Linked DNA regions of Homo sapiens: region 1 is linked to region 2. Evidence: promoter capture Hi-C in 16 types of primary human blood cells and fetal thymus (Javierre and others, 2016). All regions are on one chromosome and are shown on one strand. Each heading gives the region's core, a stretch centred on a gene start or on the middle of the fragment in contact. The rest is flanking DNA. Distances are from core to core; before and after follow the strand shown. Region 1 has its middle 130 kb from the start of VEPH1. Region 2 holds the start of MLF1 (myeloid leukemia factor 1).

Region 1 (6,653 bases), core at 750-3,249, 940 kb before region 2:
AATAAAACACAGCTGGTAAAGATGATGTTCCCTCTGTATTCTTCCCCAATTCAGCTCCCCTTCCACCCCAGAGGCTACCATTATCACAAATTTGATGCAACATTTCCTACCCATGTTTTTATATAATCAATACTTACATATACATAAATCACAAACAACATTCTTTTGTATACTTTTAAAATTATACGTACATTTTATCATTTTTCTTTCTGCTGTTTTTTGAGCCAACATTTGAGACCTATTCATGTTGATCAATATTGACTTAGTTTATTCATTTTTGTGTTTATAATGTAGTCAATCAGATGATTAGGAAGTCATATTCAAAATATTTAGCAACTGGCATGGCTCTGGAACCAACCAACACACATAAACAGCAGTAACTCTGTATCTATGTGTACCTGCACACACCTGGCTGAATACCAGCCCAGCTTCCACACTTTATTTACTCATTCCATTACTGTGAAAATTTAGATTTTTCTCAATTTTTCATGATTATAAATAATACTGCTAGAAATATTCTTGTAGACTTCTCTTCATGCATATGTGTGAGAATTTCTCTAGGATACATACGTAGGCTAGAATTGATGGGTGGTCTGCTACCCACATGTTCTATTTTATTTTCCCTGTTGTATCAGAATTGTGTCTACGGCCTAAAGATTAGGACAAAAAATGTTATGTTCCCAACATTCCATATAACCACTATGAAGTCATGTCATAGCAGTTGTGATCAGCTACTTTCCAGGAGGGCATACTGAGAAGCACCAATGCTAAGAATAGGTTATTCTAATCACTTCCACCCAAGTCAACTTAAGGAGAGAACAGGAAGAAAGGAGGGGGCCTTTGGAGGTAGTACTAAGTTCATGAAGAGAGGATATTCCCTCTCTTCACATAACCACAATATTCACTATAAAAGCCAAGGAAGGAAGACCAAAGATAATCACTGATAAAGGTTTTCTGTGCATCTGTCAGAATCATTCTCCTTCCCTTCCACATATAACTCAGTCAGAGTCTGGTCCTCTTTCATGGGAAATTGGGTGAGAGCCTGGACCTTCAGAGTGCCTGATGCTGCCAGGGTGTGGAGGAGGAGGCAGGAGAGAAGATAGGACTGAGAGAGGGACACCTGCCCTCCCACCATTTAGCATGGCAAATATACCACTGCTGGTTTACATGAGTTGAGAGAACATCAAGGAGCATGCCTGGACTTCAGCCACCTTTGTAGTACTCCACCAGAGTGCCATTCTCTAGGGGAACATCATGCTCTGTCAAGACACTGAGGCAGGGTGGAGGAAGTGAAGGCAGGTTAGATCCCATGTCAGACAATTACTCAGGGGATAAGTTCCCATGGAGCCCTTCAAAGAATCCATACCTGCGCCCCATGAGAGCCCAGCAATTGGATGTTGCCATGTGGAGGAGGACATCAAGAGCTCATTGGCATGGGCCAGAGATGTAGCTAGCACTACAGGAAGAAGATTGCACCCTCACCTAATCACACAGGAAATAACTTTGCTGTTTTCCCTTTTCTCTGGAGACATAGAAAGTTGGTATCTGAGAGTCTGCCAGCTGGGACTCCACCTCCACCGGCTAAGAGAGCCCTAGCAGTAGCTGTAGCCAAGAGAAGGAGGAAAAGAGCTTCGCATCAGATAAGAGATCAATGCTTGGAAACAAACAGGACTGAGTTTTAAACACACCAATAAGCAAAAGGGATAAAAGCTAGAGAATTTGGCCAAAGGTTATTAAGAGAGCTTGTCCTCAGCTGGCAGGGAGACTCAACGTAGTGCAGTTTGGGCATTCGTCAGAGGGAATAAAATCTCATCATGTTTATTATCCAATGAGACTAGACTGCTCAATAAATGAGGGAACCTCTATCAACCAGTAACTGCCCAGGAGCTCTCCAATGGGAGCTAAATTATATTCCCCTCCTCAGGGAATGAGAGTTCCATTGACAATCTGATGGGTGTACAGTGATATCTTTAGTGTCATTTCTACTTGTTTAGATCTTCTTGTTATTCATGAAAAGCATTGATTTAGGGCAAAAACATCAAGAAAACAATCTGACCAAAACCCCAGAAAATTGCCAAAAGAGTCATCATTATATTGGGTTCATTTTTATTTTCACAAAGAGAAATTAGCTTGCCCCAAAATATTAGTGTTGAAGTAGCCAAGAAAACTTACCCAGTTCAATATTTTTCCTTCATCAGAATCCTGGCTTCCTGAGGACCCCTAAAACCTCTTCCTTCCCCCCTTCTACTCCTCTCCTCTCAGTGATGTCAGAGGCATCTGAAGATATGAGCCTGCAGTCCTGGGAGGCTCTACCTCTGGCCTTTTGTTCAGAACGTCTTGCTGGGTGTCCTGCTCTCAATTTTCCACCCATTTGCCTTACCCTGGACCTGCACCTCTGCTAGTGCTTAGCTTCTTCAGATGGGCAACCAGCTGGCCTGCCAGCCTAGTTTTCAGCTGCAGATTTGCCTCCACAACGATGGTTCACAGCTGAAGCCAATGGGCCGGGACTGTGTCTTGCCTTCTCCCCTCTGTCACCAACCCCCAGAGTCCAGTCTCCAGGTATCCTTGGTCCAGGAGGAGGGCTGGGCCCACCTTGAATCCATAGGAAGGGAATTTGAACACATTCTGCCTGCAATCCCGTTGCATTTTGTTTTTAATTTAAATGGATGGATTTGCAGGCTAATTGTTATCCTGCCACCCTCAGCTGACAGGGTGTATCAAGGGAACAGTCCTTGAAGGTAAAAGAGCCGTACAGCTGGATTTAAGTAATAAGACATCTCTCACAAACCTGCACAAGTTGCAGTTTGATGAAAATTACAGTCAAACCTTGTGTTGTAAAGTGCTGTTTACTGGAGGAAAGAAAAAAAATCCTGTAAGATATAGAAATAGTACGTGAGACAAGCTGGCAGGGTGCTCGGAATCATTATGATGTGTAAAGAATTCCTTGACAATGACGGATCACCTCGGGAACATCTGAGCGGGGCCTTTTGTTTATCTTCACTTGCCTTTGCATTTATGTCATGTCTTTCACTTGGGGGTGAGATTTCGTCTTTGAAAGTTGAAACGATTTTTAACTCCAGAAAGGTTTACTCGGTTTTCATGAACTTGTTTTTTTGTGTCCCCCCACCACACATCCCTCTTCTACTTCCCTCTCTCTCCTTATGCCTCTTTTCCTCCCTTCCAGCTGGGGTGTGTCAGTCCTGGATACCAGATGCAAAATGATTAAGCCAGTGCAGTTTTCCAAGTTGGACTCGTTATTGATTAGCACTTCCTAAATCAAACAGAATTGCTGATCGCTATTGCAGGGCATCCACCACTTGCTTGGGATCCAAGTTCTGTTGCAGTGTTTGTGCCTGAGCAGGCATGGGGGTTTTTGATGTGTTCCCCCAACTTAATCACTGCTGTTTCCTGCAAAGGAAGAAGAATGGCAACTTTCATCACCAATTCGTGTTTCTTAAGCTCCGACTGTGTGTGTGGCAGTGTGCAGTCACACAGGGGACTTTGACAATTAGCAGGAGCCACTGTCTTTACTCTCCTTAGCTGCGATAATTAATGCCTTAGGACATTTTTATGATTTGGTATGTGCCTGGCACATGACACATAGTACTGAGAGTGTCAGTTACATATGACTCTCTTAAAAGGATGGAGAATTTAACAGAGGTCATTTTGTCCATTTGATTTGTAGATACATTAGCAGGCAATTTGAAATGTTAGTGAAATAAAATTAGAGAGGTTCTGTTTGCAAATCAGCCACTACCCAGGCATCTGTCCAAGAGTCTGAGGACCAACCTCACTCTTACATCACCCTGTCCCAATATCTGCTCTTGGCGACATATCAGGACACAAGTTGGCAATCTCCATGAATATATATGTGTTTCTTTTCGTCCCTGCACCCTGTCCCCCAGCCTACCCTGGAAAGATACTGGTAAACTTTTAAAAACTTTTATTTTGAACAAACAAACTTAGCTGGGCGTGGTGGCGGGTGCCTGTAATCCCAGCTACTGGGGAGGCTGAGGCAGGAGAATCCCTTAAACCTACGAGGCAGAGGTTATAGTGAGCTGAGATCACACCATTGCACTCCAGCCTGGGTGTCAAGAGCGAAACTCCATCTCAAAAAAACAAAAACAAAAACAAAACAAAAAAACCCCAACTTTTATTTTTAGATAATTCCAAATTTAAAGAAAATTACAAGACTAATAAAAAGAACTCCTATATACCTTTTATATATCTTCACCAACTGTTATCATTTTGCTCCATTTCATTATCTCCCTCCCTCTTTCTTTATCTGCCCCCACCACACACATACACACACTCTTCTATAATTGCTTTTCTTAACCATGTGAAAGTAAGTTGTGTACAACGATTCTCCTTGTCCCTAAATACTTTAATGTATATGACCTAAGGGGAAGAATGTTCTTTTACATGACCACAGTATTATAAATTCCATTTAACATTGGCACAATGCTATTATGTAAATTTAGCCCATATTCAAATTTTGTCAACCCTACTGTTATGGACTGAATTGTGTCTGCTTAAATTCATAAATTGAAGCCCTATCCCCCAGTGTAAGGGTACTTGGGGAGGGGGGCCTTTGGGAGGTCATGAGGGTAGGGTCCGGGTCTGATGGGCTTAGTGCCCTTGTAAGAGGAGACACAAGAGTGCTTTCTCTGTCTCTTCCTGCCATGCAGAGACACAGCTAGAAGGTGGCTGTCTGCAAGTCAGGAAGAGATCGTTCACCAGACAAGACCTGCTGGTACCCTGATCTTGGATTTCTAGACTCCAGAACTGTGAGAAAATAAAATTTCTGTTGTTTAAGCAACCCAGACTGTGGTATTTTGTTCTGGCAGCCAGAGCTGACTAATACATGTTCCAATAATGTCCTTTATAATATTTTCTCCAGCCCTATCAAGATCTAATCATGAATCATGCATTACATTTACTTATCATGTCTCTTTAGTCTCCTTTAATCTGGAACAGTTCCTCAGCCTTTTACTATTTTGTTGTTTATGACACTGGCATCTTTGAAGACCACAGGTCAGTTATTTTGTATATTATCCCTCAGTTTGGGTTTGTCTGATGTTTCTCATGATTAGATTTGGGTTGTACATTTTGAGCAGGAATACTTACATAAGTAGAATTATGTCCATCTTAATGCGTCATATCGAGACGCATGATATCAGTTTGTCTCATTTTCAGCCGTTACCTAAGCTAAGCTTTTGTTAAAAGTTTGTAAACTCACTGTTGAAAAAGCTGTCAGAATAGGTGGCTAGTATGCAGTGTTGAAGACCTTGAAACCCAGCTCTAAGGATTAAAGAACAATTAGCAACATGTGATTTTGTGTCTGACACTTGATATTGACCAAATATGCCTAAAAGTGATCTCCTTTGCTCCTAACAGCAGCACAAATCCAATAGTTCACAAATTAGAACATTTTGAGTGTGACTAATGGTTTAGGAACATTTCACTTTTCACTTTCTCTTTCATCTTTCTCTCCATTCACATGTACTGAGAATTATTATTATTATTATTAAACCTGGGCTTTATCTTCCTTATCTATAAAACAAAGAGGTTGGTGTTGATGATTGATAAAGTTCTCGGTTCTTCCCAGTATCTACCATTCTTAATAACACAGGCAGAGCACCTGGAATTTGTGAAATATATAGCCTGGAATTTAGGAAATAGAAAAATACCCTTGCAAGAAAGAAATGATGGGGAAGAGCTTTGCCTCAATGTTCAGCATCCAGGAAGGGAAGGTTTTGAATAAAAGGTTGCCTCAACACAATTTAGAACCATTCTTACATGTTTCTCTGCTTTTTTGGCCACTGGACTATTTCATGAGAGATGGCTCTTATGCTTGGGAGGGCATAGAAGTTCTCACTTTATGAAATTTTTAAAGTTGCTACTTCTGGAACATAGACAATTTTTAAAAATCTAAGTTATTTTCTACATTCTTATTGGAGCTGACCTGAAATGCCCTCTATGTCTTCTACTTGGAGAAATATTTGATGTTTAATTTTTCCTTGTTCATTTGGTGTGCTAATGTTTCTCCTTGATATAAAAACGTTGGTTTATTAATTTTAAATTGAACCTGAACTGCTATCCAAGGTTCATGCCAGACTTTCTAGGTGTTTGTTGGGAGACAGCTGGCAAATGGGCTGTTTCCAAATGACTGCCTGGTTTCCAGATAAAGAAGAATTCTACTAAATTTTAGAATAGCCTCAGCTCAGAGCCAAGAGGAGGGATAAGGAAGGAGAACTACTTGGCTCAGAAGACATTCTGAAAAAACTTCAGTGTGTCACTGAAAATGGAGCAGAGAGACAATGCTGGGCATTTGTGCAAACTCATTGCCTCTGTAGAACTTTAAAAACAGACCTTCCACATAATCGCATTACAGATAAGTAAACTGAAGTCCAAGGAGTTGTCTTGTTCAGTATCAAACAGCTAGTAATAATATTAGCTACCATTTTCTAAGGATCTACTATGTGCCTTGCACTTTACATATATTGTCTTTAATTCTCACAGCACCCCATGATAAATTATGACTCTTATTTAGACATTAAAAATCAGAATGAGCAAAGTTAAATAACTTGTCCCTGCTTATCCAGCTAGTACGTAGCAGAGCCTGGTCTCAAACCCAGGCCTGTCAGATATTC
Region 2 (7,176 bases), core at 4,046-6,545:
TTCCTCTCCAGATTTTTCTGTCATCCTCACCCACTCTGCCCATCCATCACTGAAACAGAACATTCCTCTGCTTACATACACCCTCACTACCACCTGAATTCTTACATACTCCCTCACTACCACCTGAATTCTAGGACCCAAGTCCAGGGCCCAGAGCCCCAGCTTCTTGCCTCTAGTATCTTTTCACTAAAGCCAATCTCTTGTTACCAACCCCCCAAAAGTGGTATTTACTCAACAGTTTTCAAAATAAAATATGCCTCAATTATAATTTGTGCAAAATAAACCACTAGTCATAGGCATACACATCTACAGATAAAAGCTGTAAAAGTAAATATAACTTTAAAAGTCTGCCACTTTTTTCCTTTGTTAACTCAATTCTTCGTTAAATTTTTACTTCGCTGGAGGAAATATTTGCTCTAGAGAGTGTATTTCTTAAAAGGAGAGGACTGCTATTGGTATTTAGGGAAGGACGATTCATTGTGCCAGACCGTGCCACACATAGTGAGATGTTTAGTACCCTTGGCCCTACCCAGTGAGGGCAATAAAGATGACTTCAGGAATGCAGCATGGCTAGCAACCAACTACACCTTGGCATTGTCTCCGTGGAAGAGGAAATGGGAGTGACTCCCAGTGGAATGTAAGCCCAGAAGATAAATTAAGGTTGATTGCAGGAAAATAAAATTACATTTCTTGCACATGAGTTTGGGAGTTTGGGGATGAAGCTTGGCACTCAATTAACTCCTATGTAGCGGAAAGAATTCAAGATTAGGAACAGCGCTGCCATGGACATGTATACAACACCTAAGCGAGCACCAGTCAAATCATATACATTACAGCCTTGTCTATTTATTAAGACAAATTTCTCATTAATGGAAGTATCATGAGAGGGAGGCACTTTTTCTAATTTGAGCAAAGATGCCATTATGGACTAGAGGCAGCCCTACTGGGAGTTTGAAGACCTTGGGATCTATGCTCTTACAGGTCACTTAATCGGTATGCACCATTTTCCCATCTTTCAAAAAGATATAAAGCAAAACTGTTAGAGGACTGGTAAGTCAGCTGACTGTAAAGAAGATAAACATGAAAAATAAAATGAAACATATTTTTTAGAAAAGGAATGCATGATATTTTACATTTCTTTTTAATTTGAAGAAAGATTGTGGGATTAGACAGAGGTCCCCAAACTATCTTAGTTCATGAGCCCTTAGTTCCTCAGTAATTTTTTCATTGTGCCCCCTAGGTTTAAAGAAATACTGAATAGGTCCGTTATTGTATAATTTAGATACAAACAGCGTATTTCTGACCTAAAAACTCAGTACCTTTAAAAAATAATGCACATAAATTGAAAGAAACATATTTTTGTATAATTCTTAAATAATCATACTAACAGATGGGTGCCCGCCTAGCACAGCACAATTTTTCAAACTTTAGAAACAGACTGAATGTTGCCACCAATCTTTCCTGTTCCACATTGACAGGTACTTCATTTTCATCATAGTAACTTTCAGAAACCTACCTTTCCAATGATATGACATCATCTAAAACAATGTAGTGCAATCTAATATTGAAATATGTGAACTGCCCTAAACTAGTACATTGAACAATGTCTAACACATGCCAAGTTTCTCTCAAAATTTGTCCCATAGCCCCTTGTGAGTTTGCTATGGCATCTCATTCTCAGAGGACCTCTGTGCACTGTTTAAGACAAAGGGATTAGGACAACGAAACCCTAGACACATTGAGCTTAATTGTGGTAAAGGTGTTTGTAATGGCCTAATATTCACGGCTCTGGAAAGCTATAATTAAGTTAAAAGTTCAGCACTCAAGAGCCTGTTTATTTTCTTTTGGGCACTTGAGATAATGTCTTCAGAAACATTATGAAAATTCTGAGGTGCTGTAACAGTATTTGTAAAATTAGCTGGGGAAAGAGTTGTCCACTAGGATGTAAGTTCCGAAAGGCCAGGGAGTTTTGTAACCTCAGTGTCTAGAATAATGTCTGGGATATTACTAGTCCTTAATAAGTATTTGATAAATTAATGAAAGAAACACGAAATCACTTACATATTGAAGTCTTGGTGTTTTTAATAGAGTTGCAGAGTTGGCTTGGGTTTCATCCTTTTCTCTGTTTTTCCTTAGTCAGTGTCCTTCCAAATGAAACCTAAGCAACAGTGTAGTTACAGATTATAGATGTAAAAGTGTTTACTGCAAATATTTGCTCCATAAATAGTTAATTTTTAAAATAGGGAGGCAAAGTACGGATGGTGGTGAGGATACAGGCTTTGGGGTAAGACAAATCTGGGTTTGAATTGAGTGACATCAAATTTCAATCATCAAAATTTAATCAAATTATCAACTTTCAAATCAATTATCAAAATTCAATTATCAAATTTATCTGGGTCCCAGCTTTTTTTAATGCAATTTAGGGATAAACATAATATTAGACATGGTTGCTGTAAAGGTTAAACGAGAAAACATATGTGAAGCACTTAGTGCAATCCTTGGAATATATGAAGTGTAAATGAGAGCTATTACCCTATTAGGCAATTTTCAGTTTACTTGGCTCATCTCATTCCTCACTCAGAAGGTGAGTTTTAAGGCATATGAGTAGGACTGTACATTATATACACCAGGCAAATGCTACTTTAGCACTGCCCTGGAATGCTTTTCCACTAGACATCCACTTCCTTCCTGTGGGTCTTTGCTCAAATTCCCCTTAGTGAGGCGTACACAAAACTTGCTATTTATAATTGCACCTCTCCATACTCCTTACCCTGATCAGCTTTTCTCCCTAACACTTATCACCTTACAATATACTATTTTCTATTTTGTTTATTTTGAGTCTGTCCTTACAAGAACATAAACTCCGGGAAGGCAGAGATTTTTGTCCGTTTTGTTCAATGATGCCTAAGGTCGTAGATCAGTCCCCAACACTGGGTAGTCACTCAATAAATATTTGTAGAATTGAATTTATGTGATGTGAATATATTCCCACTGAATTTTGTACTTTTTAGTTTGGGTCCATTTAGCTTGTCAGCATGATTTTGAAAAATGATTACCCGCTTTCATCCTGCATCTTTAAGTATGACTCATCACTCACATACCATATAACCAGCACTCACAGAGGAAAGCTCCAGGTACCCAGCTCAGTTCAATTACTAGCTGTGTGAACCTTGGCAATTTATTCAGCTTCTCTGTGTCTTGAATGCATCATCTATACATGGGGATAAAAGCCATCTCTACTCCATAAAACTGCTAATGAGGATTCAATGAGGTAATGCATATGGAGTGCCTACAACAGTGCCTGGCACACATTCAATAAATATTAGCTATTATGATTATATTTACAGCCAAGTCCAGGACCCTCTCCTCTCAGTCCTGTTCTGCATCTCTATTCCTCCCATGCTGGAGTATTCATTCTCTCCTGACCCACGCTTTCTTTCATTTCCACCTCTTACCCATCAGTTCTGAAAATGATGTCAAGGTCTCTTCAGTGCCAACTCTGCTCTGCCCTCCTTTTTTTTTTTTTTTGCATTTGTCATTAGATCCAAACTGCTTTCACAAGGTTCAGCTAATTCCCTGACTAACCTGTGCCTGGACTAAAGCTTTTATAACAATGTGATTCTAAAAAAGTTCCCACAGAAACTAGAGGGTAACATTACAAATTTACTTGGCCTTAATCCAGAACTATTTTAACACCATCTTTTATCACATAACTTACTCCATTTCAAGTTTTTTTTTAAGTGTGGCCTCCTTCACATCTTGTGCTTATACTATTTTAAAGAGAAAAACAATTTAAGGTCTTATAAAACAATTTTGTTTGCCTTGAAATTTATTTAGAAATTTTCGAAATTTTGTGTATATGTTCTCTGAGCTTTATTCTGAGTCCAGAGGAAAAGAAAATATCCTCTTTCCTGGATGGGCTGTGCCATCTCATCTTGGGCTGTGAAGTCTGCCCTACCCCATGCCACCAGTCTCAGGGGAAGGAAGCTGCCAGAGAACTTGGCTAAAAAAGGGGGATGGGGAGTAAAAGATCCAAACGATTAAATTTCCAGCTCTCAAAATAACCCCTGACTACTCCTGTCACCTCCAAATCAGGGCTTGCACACTTCTTCATGCTGGCAAAGTGCCACCCCTCTGGCCTGATCCCAGGGGGCCCTGATGAGCTATGGACGCCCCTTTATCTCTGCAAGACAGCCACGTAGAGAAGCTGGGGAGCTCACTGAATTAAGGGTGGACATGCAAGATGTATTTTCTCTTTTCTTATACTCTTACCATTCTTCTCCTTAATCTCTCTTCTGTCTTCCCCTCCATCTGTCTCCAGGCTCCTGAAAGGCCCCGTGATAGTGTTTTCTAAAACTTAGTAATTTGAGTACCACTATCACGATGTTCCTCTCCCCTGCTCTGCCTACCCCTCCGCCCCACCATATCCAAATTCCACCTGTTCTATTTGATAGCTTACTTTTTCACTTAAAAATGCAAAATCTAGCTCTTGATGTATATCACTGATTTAAATTTAAAATCAGTTTCCTTGCCATAAATAGAAAGCTCCCTGATAAATGTAATGCAAATAAAAACATATAGTAGTGGAATTTTAGTTGGATATGGCTGCTTGCTGCAGGCCTGTGCCTGAAACCTGCTGTTAGGTTAAGAAATGCTGGAGAAGTGTTAAAAACATATCAGCATCGCAGTGAGACTTGATCTTTGAAAGAGAGACACAGAAGGACAACCGAAAAGAGAGCAGCTTTCTCAAGAGGTAAATAAGTTTGTTGAAATCTGATAGGCTTCATCCCATTTCCTTCAACAACTGAGTACACTATTTGCTAACTGTACTAAAAAACGTTTTGCACATTTTTTCTTATTATTTGCTCACAGCTTTTGACTACCAGAGAATGTTTCGGATACAGGACTAATTCCTGTGGATGACAGAATGCGACCGTTGAATGGGACATTGGGTGTCATCTGGTCCAAATCTTGACCCCTTTTCATTTTCCCCGAAAGAAAGACTTGCGGCTCGGAACCGAGGGCGGCATGCCCAAGGTCACAGAAAGGGTGGTCTAATGTTTTGGTTCCTGCAGCCCAGAGAACAAGCTATCCCATCCCACAGGAGCCTTGGCGAAAAGCTCCCCGGCCGGCGCAAGGCCAGACTTCTCGCCTCCACTGTGTTGATTGCGGTTGCCAGGGCAGCGGCGCATTGCTCCCCGCCTCGTCCTGGTGACGTCACAGAGCAATGTCCAATGGGAAAGCAGCTCGGTGTCACGCACCTCCTATCCCGGCGGGCACCGCCTGCGCCGCGGCGAGTGAGGCGTCGTCCGTACTGGAGGCTAGCTCTTGTCGCGGCCGCGGCGAGTTAACATCGTTTTTCCAATCTGTCCGCGGCTGCCGCCACCCAAGACAGAGCCAGAATGTTCAGGATGCTGAACAGCAGTTTTGAGGATGACCCCTTCTTCTCGTGAGTTACGGGAGCCAGGAGTCCGGGGTCGCGCGGGAATTAAGGTATCGAGGGGAGCTATTTTAAGGGAAAAGAGCGAGTTTTAGAGGGCGAGAGAGAATTCGGAGTAACTCTGGAGGCGGTTTGAAGGAGACGAGGATTTGGAGGCCTGGGAGGGAAGAGAGAGGAGGATTTAGGGGTGTGTGAGACAGGGAAGAGACGGATTTGGGCGCATGAGGTGGAGAGAGGAGGGTTTGGACGCGTGAGGTAGGCGGAGGGAAGTTTGGGGGCGTGAGGTGTGGGGAGGAGAGTTAAGGCTGGGAGTGGGGGGAGAAGAGTTGAGGCCGGGAGGTGGGGGGAGGAGAATTGAGGGCATGAGGTGGGGAGAAGAGGTTGAGGGCGTGAGGTGAGGGAAGGGTTTGGGAGCATGAGGTGGGAGGGAGGAGGGTTGAGGGCGTGAGGTGAGGGGAAGGGTTGAGGGTGTGAGGTGAGGGGAAGGGTTGAGGGCGTGAGGTGAGGGGAAGGGTTGAGGGCGTGAGGTGAGGGGAAGGGTTGAGGGCGTGAGGTGGGGGAAGGGTTTGAAAGCGTGAGGTGGGGGGAGGAGGGTTGAGGCTGTGAGGTGGGGGGAGGGTTTGGGAGCGTGGGGTGGGAGGAGGAGGGTTTGGGGGAGTAAGGTGGAGGGGGGAGGGTTGAGGGTGTGAGATGGACGAAGGAGGATTTGGGGGTGTGAGGCGTTTGGAGGAGGGTTGAGGGCGTGAGGTGGGGGGAGGGTTTGGGAGCATGAGGTGTGGGGGAGAGTTGAAGGTGTGAGGTGTAGGAGGAGGGTTGAGGACGTGAGGTGGGAGGAGGATTTGGGAGCATGAGGTGTGGGGGAGGGTTGAGGGTGTGAGGTGAGGGGAAGGAGGGTTTTGGACCGCGAGGTGGGGGGAGGAGGGTTGAGGGCGTGAGGTGGGGGGACGGTTTGGGAGCATGAGGTGCAGGGGAGAGTTAAGAGCTTGAAGTGCAGGGACGAGGGTTGAGGGCGTGAGTTGGTGGGGAGGGTTTGGGAGTATGAAGTGCAGGGGAGGATTGAGGGCATGAGTTGGTGGGGATGGTTTGGGAGCGTGAGGTGGCGGTAAGAGGGTTGAGGGTGTGAGGTGGATGGAGGAGGATTTAGGGGCTGAGGAGGATTTGGGGGCATGAGGTGTGGGAGGAGGGTTGGGGAGAAGGGTTGAGGGCGTGAGTTGGTGGGAAGGGCTTGAGAGCATGATGTGGGAGGAGGGTTGAGGGCGTGAGGTAGGGGGAAGAGGTTTGAGGGTGAGAGGTAGTGGGACGAGGGAGGGTTGGGGCGTGAGGTGGAGGGAGGAGGGTTTGGGGGCATGAGGTGTGGGGAAGAGGGTTTAGGGGCATGAGGTGTGGGGGTAGGAGGGTTGAGGGTGTGAGGTGGACAGAGGAGAGTTGATGGCGTGCAGTGGGGGGAGGAGGGTTTGGGGGCGTGAGGTCGCAGGAGGATGGTTGAGGACGTGAGGTAGAGAGTTGAGGGCCCCAGGTAGGGGGAGGAGGATTTGGCTGCATGAGATGGAAAGAAGGCCCTTCCTCACACTCCCGGGGTGCCTGCTGCTTTCCATTTGGCCGGACTTTGGGTGCCCGTCATGGCTTCCTGTGTGCAGAGTTGGCCTTTGCAGCTTCAAGGGCTTTGCAGGTGACATAACTACCATCTCGGTGAAACTTATGGTGAGAATTATGTTCACATAATTGCAAATGGGAGC

Evidence for each region. The method cuts DNA at HindIII sites, captures the fragments that hold promoters and counts their contacts. A CHiCAGO score of 5 or more calls a contact.
Region 1: a contact is called between a fragment that was not itself captured here and the fragment with the promoter of MLF1 in region 2, in 1 of 17 cell types (M1 macrophages). The highest score is 8.8, in M1 macrophages.

What each region holds. Positions count from the first base shown.
Region 1 is chr3:157,628,680-157,635,332 of GRCh38, forward strand. No RefSeq gene overlaps it. Among named protein-coding and RNA genes, the nearest start is that of VEPH1, 130 kb to the left of the region's middle. The HindIII fragment of the contact is 6,424 bases long and covers 1-5,211 here.
Region 2 is chr3:158,565,899-158,573,074 of GRCh38, forward strand. It overlaps MLF1 (myeloid leukemia factor 1), which reads left to right and starts at 5,296. Exons shown (of 8, transcript NM_001369783.1): 1 at 5,296-5,449. The coding sequence starts at 5,403. It overlaps MLF1-DT (MLF1 divergent transcript), which reads right to left and starts at 5,168. Exons shown (of 5, transcript NR_104147.1): 1 at 4,273-5,168; 2 at 2,062-2,158. The HindIII fragment of the contact is 5,771 bases long and covers 3,601-7,176 here.